2 separate regions of the Homo sapiens genome follow, and region 2 is linked to region 1. Evidence: promoter capture Hi-C in human tissues and cell types (Jung and others, 2019). All regions are on one chromosome and are shown on one strand. Each heading gives the region's core, a stretch centred on a gene start or on the middle of the fragment in contact. The rest is flanking DNA. Distances are from core to core; before and after follow the strand shown.

What was found. Contacts are between HindIII fragments. The study calls those that stand out against the background at their distance.
Region 2: a contact is called between a fragment that was not itself captured here and the fragment with the promoter of FDPS in region 1, in 1 of the 25 tissues and cell types used here (heart left ventricle).

The regions. Positions count from the first base shown.
Region 1 is chr1:155,307,407-155,310,340 of GRCh38, forward strand. It overlaps FDPS (farnesyl diphosphate synthase), which reads left to right and starts at 1,460. Exons shown (of 11, transcript NM_002004.4): 1 at 1,460-1,559; 2 at 2,383-2,559; 3 at 2,637-2,799. The coding sequence starts at 2,384. It also overlaps a transcript of PKLR not described here. RefSeq lists enhancers at 218-287, 1,190-1,319, 1,650-1,819. The HindIII fragment of the contact is 6,116 bases long and covers 1-2,934 here.
Region 2 is chr1:155,621,774-155,624,707 of GRCh38, forward strand. It overlaps the pseudogene LOC100419798. Among named protein-coding and RNA genes, the nearest start is that of MSTO1, 13 kb to the left of the region's middle. The HindIII fragment of the contact is 8,414 bases long and covers 1-2,934 here.

The sequences.
Region 1 (2,934 bases), core at 210-2,709:
CTACTGGACTGCATTTCCAGTTGGTTTAGGCATTCTAAGTCACAGGATGAGATAGGAGATTGGCTCAAGATACAGGTCATAAAGACCTTGCTGATAAAACAGATTGCAGTAAAGAAACTGGCCAAAACCTACCAAAACCAAGATGGCAACAAGAGTGACCTCTGGTGGTCTTCAACGCTATACTCCTACCACATGCTGTGTCGACATCAGGGAGTTAACTGTATATGGTCTACAAAGCAGAGGCATGAATAATCCAACCCTTGTTTAGCTTATAATCAATAAATAACTGCCTGGGCCAAGTGGCTCGTACTTGTAATCCCAGCACTTTCAGAGGTCGAGGTGGCTGGATCACTTGAGGTCAGGAGTTCGAGACCAGGCTGGCCAATCTGGAGAAACCCCCTCTCTACTAAAAACACAAAAATTAGCTGGGCATGCTGGCAGGCACCTGTAATCCAGGAGAATCACTTGAACCCGGGAAGCGAGGTTGCAGCCTCCCACGTAGCTGGAATTAAGGCGCGGACCAGCACACCTGGGTAATTTTTGTATTTTTAGTAGAGAAGGGGTTTTGCCATGTTGACCAGGCTGGTCTCAGATTCCTGACCGCAGGTGATCCGCCCAAAGTGCTGGAATTACAAGTGTGAGACTCATCTTTTTTTTTTTTTTTTTTTGAGACGGAGTCTTGCTCTGTCTCCCCAGCTAGAGTGCAGTGGTTCGCTGGATCTCAGCTCACTGCAACCTCTGCCTTACGAGTTCAAGCGATTCTCCCGCCTCAGCCCTCCTGAGTGGCTGGGATTACAGGCGCGCGCCACCACGCCCGACTAATTTTTTTTTTTTGTATTTTTAGTAGAGACGGGGTTTCACCACATTGGTCAGGCTGGTCTCGAACTCCTGACCTCATGATCCACCCGCCTCGGCCTCCCAAAGTGCTGGGATTACAGGCGTGAGCCACCGTGCCCGGCCCAAGACTCATCTTTCTTAAGCCCTTAAAGCACTTTGCACACATTACCTCATGGTATTACCACCCTCATTCAACAGATGAGGAAAGCTAGTTTCAAGCAAGTTCACTGAGGATCAGAGACGTTAAATGATTTGCCTAAAGTTAGAGAACTAATAAGTGAGAAAGCTAGTCCTGCTGCGTTTTACTAACGTGCCAATCAGCTGCCCAGGAAGATAATGAAAACTTGAGTAAGACAGGCAGCCAAAGCCACAGCGGGGACGTTCCCAGCCTGGCTCGCTTCCGGCACTGACGCCTCCAGCCGCGACCTCTAGACTTCAGCCCTTCCATTGGTCGTCCGTCACAGTGCCACAGTGCGCCATGCTCACACGACGGCCAGCAGCCAATCAGCGCGGCTCATCTTCGCCCAGCCAGGACACGCAGGATCGCGTTATCTGTCCCTCCCGCGGGCACATTGGGAGTTGTAGTCTAATTATATATTTCCGCCCTTAGTGTGGGGAGAGCGGGAACTACTCGACCCACAGAGCCGATCGCGGAGCGGATTCTGCTTTTAGGAGTACCCGCCAACAAGCGGGACCGAGCAGGAATCCGTATCTGGGAACAGGTGAGAGAGGATGTGTGCTGGGCCTTGGAGGAAGGGGGCCGAGACCGGGCCTTACTTCTGTAACGATACTGTGAGGCATCGGAAGGCCAGCCTGTTGTGTCCGTTTTGAAGGTCGGTGGGCTAGACTGGCTGGCCTTCTAGGGGTGTGGAGACTTCCCAACTCTGCCCTTGTGCTTTCCTGGAATCCCCAATATGCCCGGACCCCGGTTTACTCCTTTGCTGCGAGCCCTTCTCTCCCGTCCAGAGTTGCTCCGAGCCTATCTGCTCAGTCCTAGCGATTCCTGTGGGGCTTGGGACGCGCGGTTCAAGCACCCCGGACCATATGGATGCAGCACCCATGGGTTCTCGCTCCAATGCTTCTTTCCTCCTTGGGGCGTAACTCAGACCCTGGGCACCCCTCTCCACTGCCCAGGGGAGACCTGGGTTCTAGATTTGGCTCTGCCTCTACTATCTTCCTACCTCCTAGAGCCTCAGTTTGGCTTGTGTAAAATAGGATGACTTAAGGGTCCTTTCAGCCCCTAATCCTGGGGTACTTTACTCTGTACCGCCTCCTTACCCAGCCTTGTGCACGCCATCTTGAAGGCACTGAGTTCTAGCCTGTTTATTGTAAGTGGTGATTAGTTGGGTCTCAGTCACCCAGCCATACTTTTTTGTTCCCTGCGTATCCTTCCTGTAATTGTCCCCAAGCACATTCCACAAGAGGGAGGGGCACTCTGGGCTAAGGCTGGGGTGGGAGTTATCTGGGGAGCTGCCACCATGCCTCTGCCTTTGGTGCTTGCCCCTGCAGGGAGTGCTTAGTGCCCCCTCCCTATGCCACTCCCAGGATGCCCCTGTCCCGCTGGTTGAGATCTGTGGGGGTCTTCCTGCTGCCAGCCCCCTACTGGGCACCCCGGGAGAGGTGGCTGGGTTCCCTACGGCGGCCCTCCCTGGTGCACGGGTACCCAGTCCTGGCCTGGCACAGTGCCCGCTGCTGGTGCCAAGCGTGGACAGAGGAACCTCGGTGAGTGTGGTTGGGGTGAGGGGCCTTGGGGAGGGGAGCAGCTGATCAGGTTTCTGACTTGTTTTTCTTCTACTTAGAGCCCTTTGCTCCTCCCTCAGAATGAACGGAGACCAGAATTCAGATGTTTATGCCCAAGAAAAGCAGGATTTCGTTCAGCACTTCTCCCAGATCGTTAGGGTGCTGACTGAGGATGAGATGGGGCACCCAGAGATAGGAGATGCTATTGCCCGGCTCAAGGAGGTGAGGGATTCATGACTTGGGGGAGTAAGGCTTTGGTTCAGTTGCTCTGTACCTGTGTGGCATTCACCTGTGGCTTATGGGGGACTTTTGACAGATGTGAGAGAAAGCTTTTTTTTTTTTTTTGAGACAGAGCCT
Region 2 (2,934 bases), core at 218-2,717, 310 kb after region 1:
CATGACTGGCCCTTACAGGTTTAAAACTCTTGATATTATGAAATAGAATTTTAGATTACCATAAGTCATTTGTTTTGCCAAAAGGATGACTCAAAAATTTGAAAAAGCAAAATGCTTTGATTAGCCTTTACTATTACATAAAAATCCTGTTCAAGAGAGAAAGCCAAATTTTACCCTTGCATAAGTCTGCTATTAATGTTAACCCCAATTTTAATGAAATCCTATAGACAATTCTATTTAATCTTTTTTTTTTTTTTTTTTTTTGGCAGTGGCAAGATTTATTAAAGTGAAAGTAAAGTTTCCACATGGTGGAAGGGGACCTGAAAGGGCTGCCATTTTTGGCTTGGGTGTCTTATACTTATATCCCCTTATGACCCCTCCCCTTTTTCTTTTTCTGTCCTATAGAATTAGCTTATTTTCTATCCACTTGTGGGTAGGTGGGCATGATTGGTTAAAAACATCAGGCTGCAGCTAGAGCTTAAACTCCCTATATGATTGGTTGAAGGTTCAATCCCTTAGTTTGCAGCTATAACTCATTTTGGCTTAGGGGAAAGTTCCCTTAGGGAAGTCCCTATTGACCCAGGAAGTCCAGCCAACTTAGCCACTTAGTCCCTCAGTCCCTCCTCTCAAAAGGAAAGCCCAAGTGCCGTTGGGAAGTTGGGCAACAATCATTCTAGCTACTTCCTGCTGAGCTGGGGTGTAGAAGGGGCTCTGCAGTTGAGCCTTCCTCAGGAGGGGAGTCTTCAGTGTCATGGTGCAAGAACAGATTGGTGGGTCAGTCTAGGGGTCCTCGATAGCAGGTGCTAGTGGTGGTCATTTGGGGCTCCATCTGTAGAATCATTTGCAGTTTCATGGATTCTATTCTGGAAGAGACAAATTTTACAAGGAGGTTAAAAATGCAGGGTCCAGAGATAAGCAACATCACAATAGCCACCAAGGGTCCCAAGAAGGGGAGAAACCAGGGCATCCATTGGTTGACAATACTCCAAAGTCCTGTGTCTTGGAGCTCTTGTGCCTGGCACTGTATCTGGTCTCGAAGCTCCTTAACCTTTTTTGGTGACAATTCTGTATTGATTAACAAAATAGTAACACTCTTCTCCTAGAAAAAGACAGGTTCCACTTCTTTCAGCTGTTAATAAATTTAAGGCTTTCCAATTCTGGAGGGCTACTGCTGCTAAAGAGTTAAGCTAGCTTTGTAAGGTGACCAGTGAATCTGCAACTCGTTCCATGTCATCATTTAACTCTTGTGATAATTTGTAATATGTTGGGGTGATCAGACCCAACACCAGGCTGTGGGGGCTACGAAGTCCGGCGGAGTCAAAGGAATGAGATAAGTTAAGAGTGCAAGAAGTGGGACCAGGGGGTCAATGCTAGTATGGAGGCTGTGAAGGCCCTGAGCTCTTGAAGCCTGCACTATTTATTGGTGATCAAACAAAGAAGCAGGTGGTGAGGATGTGGGGGTTCAAAGAAAGCAGTGTATCAAGTGTGTGATCTACAGCTGTGACAGTTTAGCATTTTCTTTGAAGCATATGGAACATGTTCTGCTACTTGAGATAATGGGGAACATGTTCTTCTAGTTTAAGACACAATCGATCTATGAGCCTGGGAGGGCTAGAAACAAGGAGCCAGCAAATCTAGACACATTCCAGAGGCCACAAGGGGTTTTATGCCCTGAGCCCTGGATTCCATTCAAGCCATGAGGGGTTTTATGCCCTTGGCTTAGAGTGTGGTGCAGCAGGGCAGCCTTTCACCCTTTGGCACAGAGCTTGGTGTTCCAAAGGCCACAAGGGGTTTTAGACCCTGGACCCTGGACCCTGGACCTGTTCTAAGACTCTTTTACATTATATCAGACATGCAAGCCCTGCCTCAGCTTTTTCCCCAACACTCAGCTTTTTTCCCAACACTCAGCTTTTCCCCAACAGTAAGAGAATTGGGTGGAGGTGGTAATGCCTCCAATGCCAGTTCCTAGACCTCCTAGTATCCTAGCCCTGAAAATGAATGGCAGGATAGTCGAGGTATGCTGAGATGCTGGGTTTGACAGATCTTTAAAGGCAAATAAAAATTGCGAGTTAGGATGCAGAGGGATGCAGAAGAAAGCGTCCATAAGATCTAGGACTGTAAACCATTCTGCTTCCTCTGGTATCTGGGAGAGTAGAGTATAAGGATTAGGTACAACTGGATTGTTGGGAACAAGCCCCTCCAAATCTGGTCATAAACTGGCCCCAAAACTGGCCATAAACAAAATATCTGCAGCACTGTGACATGTTCATGATGGCAATAAAGCCCATGCTGGAAGGTTGTGGGTTTACCGGAATGAGGGCAAGGAATACCTGGCCCACCCAGGGCAGAAAACCACTTAAAGGCATTCTTAAGCCACAAACAATAGCATGAGTGATCTGTGCCTTAAGGACATGCTCCTGCTGCAGTTAACTAGCCCAACCTATTCCTTTAATTTGGCACATCCCTTCATTTCCCATAAGGGATACTTTTAGTTAATTTAATATCTGTAGAAACAATGCTGATGACTGGCTTGCTGTTAATAAATACGTGGGTAAATCTCTGTTCAGGGCTCTCAGCTCTGAAGGCTGTGAGACCCCTGATTTCCCACTTCACACCTCTATATTCTGTATGTGTGTCTTTAATTCCTCTAGTGCTGCTGGGTTAGGGTCTCCCTGACCAAGCTGGTCCTGGCACTGGATACAGGGGAACAACTGCCTCAATGATAATTCAGAGGTCTTTCACTAACCTCCACTGTCTGTTGGGTTTTTGTATGCCTAGAATAGGACTGTTGCCTGGACTGTTGCATGGCTTTACTAATCTCTGTGCTTGTAGGTCTTTGACAATCTTTTGTAACCCTTGTTGGGCTTCTGGTCAGAGGGGGTACTGCTTTGATAAGGAAAGAAAGTAGGATCCTTTAATTTAACTTGAACTGGA